Regions from separate parts of the Homo sapiens genome. Here regions 2, 3 and 4 are each linked to region 1. The links are contacts of gene promoters, found by promoter capture Hi-C in human tissues and cell types (Jung and others, 2019). All regions are on one chromosome and are shown on one strand. The core of a region is centred on a gene start or on the middle of the fragment in contact, and the rest is flanking DNA. Distances in the headings are between cores, read along the strand shown.

Region 1 (2,700 bases), core at 169-2,668:
ACCAAAAGTCATTAAAGCATTAAAGATTAAGACCCACTCACAAGGAATTCACATACTCTGCTTCTTTACAAGGGCAGTCTTGCACCTACACTGACTTGGTGCACCTCCTTACACAGAAGAAATCCACCTTCATGACTTGAGTATAAAAAAATGCTTTTCTGATGGCCCATACGTTCCCAGATATCTCCACCCCATCATGCTCTTAAAAGCTGAAGCTGACTTAGTGAGAATCCATTTACACTAAACAGTGTAGAGTAAGACAACACAAGCCAAGCCCATGACTGAAGGGAGCCCACAAAGACTGGGCAGCTCCTCCAATGTAACCGAAGATTCAACCAAAGATTCTAACTGCCCTCCAGCCCCAGGGCTACGGAATGGCCCAGGGAAGGCAGCGTGCAGCTCGCAACTAATAATCCAGGTACAACCAGCAGATCAAAAGCATCCAGTGAGTGGCTCTGCCAAGTCCCTGTCCATAAAAGGTCCATAGCACAATCACTATGTTTTGCTCCATTTTGTAAGCCCAGCTAAAAGGAGAAAAATTCAATCATTTTTCCTAAAGATTGCTGGTTGCGAAAGACCAACTCCTTTTAAGCGTCTATGCACCAAATCTGTAAGATACAGATATTGGGAGAAGGGGCTCCATACCTGTTCAGAGCAGAGATAAACAGTTGGCATTCACTGGTATAGAGCAATTGTCACAACAGTCATTAGGAAGCTGAACAAATGTTGAGAAATCCAAATGTATCCATTCAGAATGGTGCAAAATTCCTATAAAGTCCTACATCAGAAAATGAAAGAAAGACATTTGGGTGAAGGTAATCAAAATGTCTGGCTAACTCTTGCCTTTTCCTGATATATGTTTTCCATAATAGACCCCACTAGCACCTTGATCCTCTACCTTAAAGATGGAAACGGCTTGGCAGAGGTTGTGTTACTAGGCAAGGTCTTGCTACAATTGAAAGGATGCCACCAGAGATGAAAACCCTACATACATCTCTGCCACCAAAAGAAGACTTTGGAATCAGGCATGATGCAACCAAAGATTCTTACTGCCCTCCAGCCCCAGGGCTGCGGAGTGACCCAGGGAAGGCAAGATGCAGCACACAGCTAATAATCCACATGTAACCAGCACACCAAAAGCATCCAGTGAGTGAGTTAAAACCATGCTTCTATCTATCCCCCAGGAGTGGACAGACAAGTCTGCCTAGATTTGAGGCGGGGAAAAGAGGTCTAAATTTTCACAAGAATTAACTTCTTTTTCCTACAAAGAGACAATGAGGTGTTTCTCCTCTTACCTCATGGATTGCTGGAGTAAATGTAGAAACAAAAACTCATTTTCTTGGTCTCCAAGAAAGCAACCAGATTCTCGATGTGAGCAAGTCCCTGCACCTTTGATGCAAGAGTTTGGATATGCTAGGTGAGGGTACCCGAGGCCCTGTTGATTTTATGAGTCTGTGGGCCAGCTCAGACCGGCTGCCAACTCATCTGTATGCAACAGTTCTCAAAGAACATAGTTTACTTTATAACCGGATCCAACAAGAGTAGGCGTGGCAGTTAAGTGAGTGAGATACCAAAGGTGTTGAGCTACCAAGGCTAACTAAGAAGGATTTGTTTATGGAACCCTGGCTTGGAACCAGAAGGCCGGTATGCTCATGTCGATGTGTCTAAGTCAAAGGCATGAAGTTGAACACGTGCGCACATGAGGCTGGATGTTACAGGGCAGGGAAGTAGGGGTCCCCAAGGAGCCCCTCACAAATGTCTCCTGTCCTGTGAATCACTCAGTGGCCCTAGAACAGCAGTCCCCAACCTTTTTGGCACCAGGGACCAGTTTCATGGGAGACATTTTTTCCATGGACCAGGGAGGTGGTGGGGGAGGATGGTTTCGAGATGATTCAAACACATGACATTTATTGTGAACTTTGTTTCTACTGTGTTTACTTATAATAATTACTTTACTTCTATTATATTCTATTATATTCCTTATTTCATTATATATTATATTCTAATATATAATGAAATAATATTCTATTACATTATATAATATTCTATTCTATTCTATAATATTATAGAATGAAATAATGAATATGGGATGAAATAATGAAATATTCTATTCTATTATAGAAGGAAATAATATTCTATTCTATTCTATGAAATAATATTCTATTATATTCCTTATTTCATTATGTATTATATTCTAATATATAATATAATATATATTATGTATTATATTCTAATATATTATATAACATATATTATGTATTATATTCTAATATACTCTATAACATATATTCTGTATTATATTCTAATATATTATATAACATATATTCTGTATTATATTCTAATATATTATATAACATATATTCTGTATTATATTCTAATATATAATATATATTCTGTATTATATTCTAATATATAATATATATTATGTATTATATTCTAATATATAATATATATTCTGTATTATATTCTAATATATAATATAATATATATTATGTATTATATTCTAATATATTATATAACATATATTACGTATTATATTCTAATATGTTATATAATATATATTACGTATTATATTCTAATATATTATATAACATATATTACGTATTATATTCTAATATATTATATAACATATATTACGTATTATATTCTAATATATTATATAACATATATTACGTATTATATTCTAATATATTATATAAC
Region 2 (2,720 bases), core at 142-2,641, 600 kb before region 1:
GTCTTCCAGTGTTAGATATGATGTTAGCTGTGGGTTTCTCGTAGATAGCCTTTATCAGATTGAGTCCTTCTATTCTTATTTATTGTTTTTATTAGGAAAGAGTTTTGAATTTTGTCAACTTTTTTTGCGTCTATTAAAATGATTATGTGATTTTAAAATATTGATAATATGTATCACATTAATTATTTTCAGATGTTAAGACTAAATCCCACTTGGTCACATGTGTAATTCTTTTTATATGACACTGGATTCAGTTTGTGAGTATTTTGCTGAGGTTGTGTGACTCTATATTCATGAGTCATTGTTCTGTAGTTTTCTTGTGATATCTTTGGTTTTGATTAATAGAATGAGTTGGGAAGTGTTCTCTCTGCTAATTTTTGAAAACAGAACTGGTATGAATTCTATTTTTTAAATTTTGGGTAGAATTTAATGGTCAATCTATCTGGGTCAGGGCTTTATGTTGTGGATAGTTTTGTTTTTAATACTTTAATCTCTTCACTTATTATAGGTTTATTCAGATTGTGATTTCTCCACAAGTCAATTTTGGTGGTCCATAACTTCCAAGGAATGTGTCCATTTTATCTAATTCAGGGGTTCCCAACCCTGGACCACACAGCAGGAGATGAGTGGAGGGCAAGGGAGCATTACTGCCTGAGCTCCTCTCCTGTCAGATCAGCGGTGGCATTAGATTCTCACAGGAGTGGATCCCTAATGTGAACTGTGCATGGGAGGGATCTAGGTTGCATGCTTCTTATGAGAATCTAACTAATGCCTGATGGTCTGAGGTGGAACAGTTTCATCCCAAAACCATACCCCACCCCCAATCTGTGGAAAAATTGTCTTCCATGAAACCAGTCCCTGATGCCAAAAAGGTTAGGGACTGCTAATCTAATTTATTTAACATGTGGTGTACAAGAGTTCTTAGTATTTCTTCATAATTCTTTTTGTGTTTCTAAGCTTAGTAGTTTGTCTCCTTTCATTGCTAGTTCTAGTAATTTGTGTCTTCTCTCTCTCTGTCTCTCTTCTTGGTCAATCTAGCTAACGTTTTGTTAATTTTATTGAGCTTTTCAAAAACCATTCCTTGGTGCCACTAAATTTCTCTATTGTTCTCCTGTTTTCTTTTTCATTAATTTCTGCTGTAATCTTTATTATTTTCTTCTTTCTGTTTGCATTCTGATTAGTGTGCTCTTCTATGTTTAGTGTATTAATATGAAAGGTTAGATTATTGAGGTCTTTCTTCTTTCTTAATGAAGTTTTCAAAATAATTGAAGAACACTTGTAACTTAATTGAAAGAGAACACCAAGTACTCATTAAATGAATTTTTAAAAAATAATACCCAAACAAATGTATACCTCATCATGAGATCTGCGTACACCAGAGATAAAGAGAAGTTCTAACATCTTACAGAAAGAGGAAATAAAGAACAAAAACACAATGTGAGAATCATAAATAAAAATTTAATTATATTTCTTAATAGTGTTACTGGAAGCTAAAAGGTATTAGAACAAGGCCTTCAAAATTCTGAAGAAATTGATTTTTAGTCTAAAAAATTCTATAATCACAAACCTAACATATCTAACAGAAGAAAAGCAATGTCTTCACATATTAAAAAAATCTAAAAACAAATTAAAGGAAAAAATACAGAAAGCCTAACTTCTAATCCTACATTTCCGGAAAAGTTGCTGTAAATATGGCTACAGCATAGTAGGGAGACTGTGTGTATATGGGGGCAGGAGTATATGGGATATCTCTGTGCCTTTCTCTCAATTTTGCTGTAAACCTAAACCTGTTCTAAAAATCATCTTAAAACTTTGCTTAGGAAAAGTGACTTAGCCTTTATACATTCCACTGGAAGGTTAAAAATCCATCCTAGTAAAAAGAATAAACCACTATAGTTTAAAGGGCTCATATCCTAGTAGAAATATTTATGCTCCAACATGCCTCAGATCTTGCTAGTAAGAAAAGTTTGAAGCACCACAAAGTTGACCTTCTTATTAAGGTCCTTAGAAGAGATAAGCTGATGCACAAACACCTTTTAGTCTTTGTCTTTGTCAGAATAAACTTCCTTCCTAGACAGATGGCAGATCGCAAAATGTCAGGTTAGCTTTGAGGCCAGTTAATTCAGATGGTGTCAACATAAATAGCTGTTGACTTGTTGTGGAAAACCAAACTCCAAAACAAGACCCAAATATTTTATTATATGCAATTTTGCTTTCAGATCATATTTCCTGTGTTATTCCTGCACCCTGTTTTTTTTGTTATTACTACCAATATTTGCATGTAAACAGGATCTCTGTTGCTTAGCAATTCATTACTTCTGTTTTTTTCTTCTCAGCTGAAATTGTCTTATTTTTGTAGTAGAGAAGAGAACTGTCTGATTTCTCTCCCATCTACAAAGTTTATCCCATTTTGAAATCTGAACATAAAGTTTGTTTGTAGAACAAGTCACTCAAATGTTCTTCAGACTTTTGTTTGTATTTCAATTCTCACTGGAAAGGGATTGAAAATATCATTGCTTTTGACTACTGCTGCTTTCTGCCAATTTTATGGTTACTCTATACCTACTTCAGTCAGTGAAGATCCCTGAAAGGGCATTCATTAAAATATGTTTAATGATTGGGAAAAATTAGAAGAAAACAGATTCCATGAATAGGGGCTAGATAAAGATGTGTATTGAATCCATGATACAAATGTCCTATGGAACCATTGTAAAGCTATT
Region 3 (2,700 bases), core at 92-2,591, 570 kb before region 1:
AGGAATGAAGGAAAAGAACAATTTTGTGATGGTAGCTGGAAGCCTCCCAGGTATGGAACTTGAGCAAAATGCTTCTAGGAAGCATTTGGAGAAAGATAACAGCAGGTAAAATGCCAGTTAGAGGGTCCACTTATAAAGAAGAAGTCACAATTTTGATGTTTTCACCCAGCTTTTCTGTGGTCTCTTTTTAAAAAAATAAAAATACATACTTTTGATAACTTACTTTCTCTTAAGTGATAAAGTTCATGTAACTCTTGATGAGGTAAAATATATCCTAGGATAATATTATTCTAACCTGATTCTAAATCGTATGTTTTTTAAAAAAAATGTTGTAGTGTTAGTCAACTTTGGAGATCTAATCAATATAGACAGCTCTGAGGAGTAGATCACTTCCCCTACATTTTTCTTATTTTTTTTAAGAGCAAGTGTTCTTAAACTATTAGGAAGGTGTGTGTCATGTCATTTTTCATCTGTAGCCACATTTCCTTTGAAATTAAAAGGAGATAAAAGTCCCATCTGTATACTGCTAGCAGAAAAAAATTGCCATGAACTTTCCCCAAAGACATTATGAAAAGCCTTAACAACAAGCATACGTGAGAAAACAGCACACAAAAACCTTGGAGTCAACCTAAATGTCCATTAATACATAATATGTATATAAATAAATACAATAAAATAATATATAGCTGTGAAAAATAGAGAATAGTTAAATAACATAGAAACATGGCCATACTGCACTGTTGAGTGAAATAGCAACTTGCAAAGCAACAATATGTTAGCCCAGTTTATAAAAACAAAAATACATGTGTGTATATTTGTGTGATATGTGTTGTGATACGTGTAGAGAAGGACAAACTCAAAAGATTCATACAAAGCATACCAAGACAGTTTTTTCTTGGTTGTAAGACTGTATGATTTTCAGGCTCTTTTTTGTTTTGCATTAAATTTTGACTATAAAATGTAAAATAAATCCTTGAAAATCAATATTTTAAATTTTATTTCGCAGTACTTGCACTTCACTGTAATTCTTGGTGTTGCTATAAAGCTGGTTATATTTACTACTATAATTGATTCTCAACATTCTGTCCCATATTCAATTCTATGTAATGATTCTTATTCTGACCAGGCCTTTTAATAAAGATGGTTGCCATCTGGCCAGTTGTATCATTTAAGTTTTATCTTCTGCTGCTGATCATCATTAAGCTTTAAAAACCAATACTTTCATTAATATTTATACTTTTTTAAATTTTTTCAAGGTACAATAAATCATTAATTAGCCCATCTTCACGGTATGTTTTCCCATTTCCTGGGCTATGTGATTTCAGTCTAGCTGCAGTGTCTTCAAACTGCACCTCCTAAAAGCAACAGAATGATTCAACTGAACAACTATTCAACTATTACTTGACTATCCACAGGTGCAAAACATGACACCAGGAAGAGTGGGAACGACACCAATAAACAAAAATGAGCCCCTGATGTCAAGGAGCTCAGTCTAGGGAGCAAGAAAAACACAGGCATAAGTAATCCCAATGCAATGATTTGAAAAGCAGTAGACAAGCACTCATTCCAATTCCTAAATGCATTCTGCACCTCTGCCAACTTCTTACAAAATGCCCATTTGCTTTATTCTTATTGACATATTACAGATTGGAAATGTCTCAGAAAGGGAAAGCATGATACTGTACATCTTCAATAGACATAAATGCTCAGAAAGCAGGGACCTGCTTATATTTTCCTATGATGGTGACTTATTAACTAAAATCCAACCCACCCGTTTGGGAACCAAATTAGATAAGTTATCTCTTTGTGTCATCCCAGTTCACTGGCTCACCACTCTCTGGACATATAAACACTCTGTTTTATTTCGCAGATGAGGAAATTAGAAGACGGGGGAAACTGCAGCTTGTCCTTTTCTCCTCAAAAGCCCATTTCAAAGTCCACATTCGATTGCGGGATTACGCTTAAGAGGTGGGCTTCAGATCTTCAGTTACTTATCCAGCTGCAGGATGCCCTGCACTCCAGTAGGTGTTTAGAGTTTGAGACTGGACAAGTGAAGAGTCTCAAGGCAGAGCTGACTCCACCTACCGTTACACTGTTGAGCAGATGAGAAAACCAGGCTTAATGTTTGTTACCAGTGTCTCTTCCTATTTCTTACTGTGTGACAATGATCGGTATCTGGTTGCCTTAGAGACTGTCAGACCTGGCATCTCTGCGTATCTGCAGAACACTCAGTGGTTTCTGAAAACAGGTGTGGCCTGGTTGAGTGTAGCATAGCCACAAGTTTTTTTTTTTTTTTCTTTTTTTTTTTTGTTTAGGTTGCTTTGACTCTGGTGGCTTTTACCAACTTTCCAAATGTCACTCCCTCTACCTCAGGGGCTATTTGTCAAAGTTATTGGTAAACTAGTTTCTTACCTGTTTTTTCTCTTTATTTTAAGAGATAAAATACTAGATAGAAAAAAAAAGCTTACTGAAGCAAAAACTGGTTTTAAGTGACAATTGTGTGTTCGTTGTGGCTTGCACTTTGACAATTAGTTCTGGTCCTCTTGCTGATGGTGTGGCTTTTGAGGTAAATTGCATGAAGAAAACCAGTTCTCATTTGGTAAGCTCCAGTGGGTTGCAGAGTTGAGGGAGCTGATACTATCACCCACCACCATATATTTGGCCTTACTGGTATAGAGCTAATGACCAGTAAAGGTATTG
Region 4 (2,700 bases), core at 114-2,613, 610 kb before region 1:
TGACTGTTTTCAATCAACTCTGCGTTAACTTGAACTTGTCCCTGCATCGAAACATAATGGGGAGGGTATTTTTTCTCAAAAGATTTATCGTAACTAATTAATCATCATGACCATAAAAATCTGTTCATTTTTGTGAGGCATAGAAATTATGTGAAATCTGTCCAATAATGTTCATAAGAGTAACACTGAATGAACGCTGATTAGGCACCAGGCATCCTTCTGAGTACTTTGTAGAGATTAATTTATAAATTATCACAACAGTTATTCTGTGTGATTTAATATTATTATCCCTATTTATAGATAAGGTAACAGAAGTACAGAGAATTTAACTATCTTGTGCAAGACGCTTAAGAAATGAAAGGAGTAAACTATGAATCTGCAATTTGGAATGCAGGCAAATCAGGTCAGGGCCTGCTATTTAAATCCTGCTGTAGAGGACTGCATTTTTACATTGACCATAGAAATGTATTAGACAGAGGAGCATCTAGAAACACTAGAAATCCTGCAAATCCACAAGGTCTAGCTCTCAGCCCTACGAGGAAGGCCCCTCTCCAGGTTTGTTCCTCCCTTGGGTATTGATATTGTTTGGCTGTGTCCCCACCCAAATCTCATCTTGAATTATAGCTCCCATAATTCCCACTTGTGGAAGGTACCCAGCGGGAATTAACTGAATCATGGGGGCAGGTCTTTACCATGCTGTTCTCATGATAGTGAATAAGTTTCACAAGATCCAATGGTTTTTTTAAAGAGGAGTCTGCCCATACAAGCTCTCTTCTCTTGTCTGCTGCCATGTGTGATGCGCCTTTCACCTTCTGCCATGATTGTGAGGCCTCCCCAGCCACTTGGAGCTGTAAGTCCATTAAACTTCTTTCTTTTGTAAATTGCCCAGTCTTGGGTATGTCTTTATCAGCAACATGAAAATGAACTAATACAGGTACACTGCCTCAGTCCTATAGGCAGTAGCTTCTCCCTGGAGCTACTATTTCTGTGTTCTTTAGCCTCTCTTTTCCCTGTACTAGTCAATCCCTTGTCACTCCAGTCTCCTGTTAATCCCCTATTTGTATATATTAAACTGTTACTGTTCAAATCCCTCATGCTTCCTGCCTCCCCAGAGGAATGGCCCCGAAACTTGCTCAGTGCCTCCTGTCCTACTTTTCCCTTTGCATCCGCTTCAGCTGCTCTTGACTCCTCGCTGTTCCTCTGGTCTTCCATCTGTGTTCCCACCTCAGAGCTTTTGTACTTGCCCTTCCCTGGAAAGACTCCACACACACACACACACACACACACACACACACACACCTCTTAGATTTGATAAGTGAATGTATTGAATTCACAGGATACAAAATAAACTGACAAAACTCAGTAGCGTTTCTGCACACCAAAAATGATCAAGCTGAGAAGCAAATCAAGAGGCAATATCATTTACAATAGCTACAAAAACAAAACAAAATAAAATAAAATACCTAGGAATATATTTAATTAAGGAAGTGAAAGACCTTTGATGGAAGAAATTGTACATGGCACAAAAAATAGAAAGCACTCCATGTTCATAAATTATTCAAATGACCAGACTGCTCAAAGCAATCTATAGATTCAATGCAATCCTTATCAAAATACCAACGTTATTTTTTTACAGAATTAGAAAAAACAATCCTAAAATTCACATGAAACCAAAAAAGAGCCCAAATACCCAATGAAATCCTAAGCAAAAGAACAAAGCTGAAGGTATCACATTACCTGACTTCAAATTATAATACAGGGCGATGTATGGCACTGGTGTAAAATTGGACACATAAATCAATGAAACCAAACAGAGAAACCAGAAATTAAGCCATATCTCTATAGCCAACTGATCTTTGACAAAGTTGACAAGAACATACAGTAGGGAGAGGATACCCTTCTCAATAAATAATTCTGGGAAAATTGGAAAATTGGATATCCATATACAGAAGAACGAAACTGGACCCCTATCTCTCACTATATACAATAATCAACTCAAGATGGATAAAAGACTTAAATGTAAGAACTGAAACTACAATAATACTAAAAGAAAACCTAGGAAAAAATACTTTGGACATTGGTGTAAGCCAGGGGTGTACAATCTTTTGGCTTTCCTGGGTCACACTGGAGAAGAAGAATTGTCTTGGGCCACACGTAAAATGTAATAACACTAACAACAGCTGATGAGCTCATAAAAGTCACTAATAAATAATAATGTTTTAAGAAAGTTTAAGAATTTGTGTTGGGTCACATTCAAAGCCGACCTGGGCTGCATGTGGCTCATGGGCTACAGGTTGAACAAGGTTGGTCTAGGCAAAGAATTCATGACTAGGACTTCAAACACACAGGCAACAAAAACAAAAATAAACAAATAGGATTTAATTAATTAGAAAGCTTCTGCATAGCAAAAGTAATAATTAACAAGCTGAATAGGCAACCTACACAACAAAATAAAATATTTGTAAACTATGCATCTGACTGGGGACTAATATCCAGAATTTACAAGGAATTCAAACAACTCAAAAACAAACAAACAAAAACCAGAAACAATTTTATTAAAAAGTGGGCAAAGGGCATGAATAGACATTTTTAAAAAGAAGACATAGATGTCCAACAGGTATATGAAAAATGTTCAACATTGCTAATCATCAGCAAAATGCTAATCAAAACCACAATGAGATATCATCCTAACTCAGAATG

The links. The method cuts DNA at HindIII sites, captures the fragments that hold promoters and counts their contacts. A contact is called where the count stands out against the background at its distance.
Region 2: a fragment that was not itself captured here is called in contact with the fragment with the promoter of KCNJ1 in region 1 in 1 of the 25 tissues and cell types used here (heart left ventricle).
Region 3: a fragment that was not itself captured here is called in contact with the fragment with the promoter of KCNJ1 in region 1 in 1 of the 25 tissues and cell types used here (spleen).
Region 4: a contact is called between a fragment that was not itself captured here and the fragment with the promoter of KCNJ1 in region 1, in 1 of the 25 tissues and cell types used here (lymphoblastoid cells).

The regions. Positions count from the first base shown.
Region 1 is chr11:128,865,878-128,868,577 of GRCh38, forward strand. It overlaps KCNJ1 (potassium inwardly rectifying channel subfamily J member 1), which reads right to left and starts at 1,419. Exons shown (of 3, transcript NM_153766.3): 1 at 1,296-1,419. LOC107984409 (a long non-coding RNA gene) reads left to right here. Exons shown (of 3, transcript XR_001748442.2): 3 at 873-1,302. The HindIII fragment of the contact is 8,499 bases long and covers 1-2,700 here.
Region 2 is chr11:128,269,397-128,272,116 of GRCh38, forward strand. No RefSeq gene overlaps it. Among named protein-coding and RNA genes, the nearest start is that of LINC02098, 62 kb to the left of the region's middle. The HindIII fragment of the contact is 3,763 bases long and covers 1-2,720 here.
Region 3 is chr11:128,300,489-128,303,188 of GRCh38, forward strand. It overlaps LOC124902787 (a long non-coding RNA gene), which reads right to left. Exons shown (of 2, transcript XR_007062946.1): 2 at 1,839-2,700. Among named protein-coding and RNA genes, the nearest start is that of LINC02098, 93 kb to the left of the region's middle. RefSeq lists a silencer at 2,151-2,240. The HindIII fragment of the contact is 4,008 bases long and covers 1-2,700 here.
Region 4 is chr11:128,250,938-128,253,637 of GRCh38, forward strand. No RefSeq gene overlaps it. Among named protein-coding and RNA genes, the nearest start is that of LINC02098, 44 kb to the left of the region's middle. The HindIII fragment of the contact is 3,615 bases long and covers 1-2,700 here.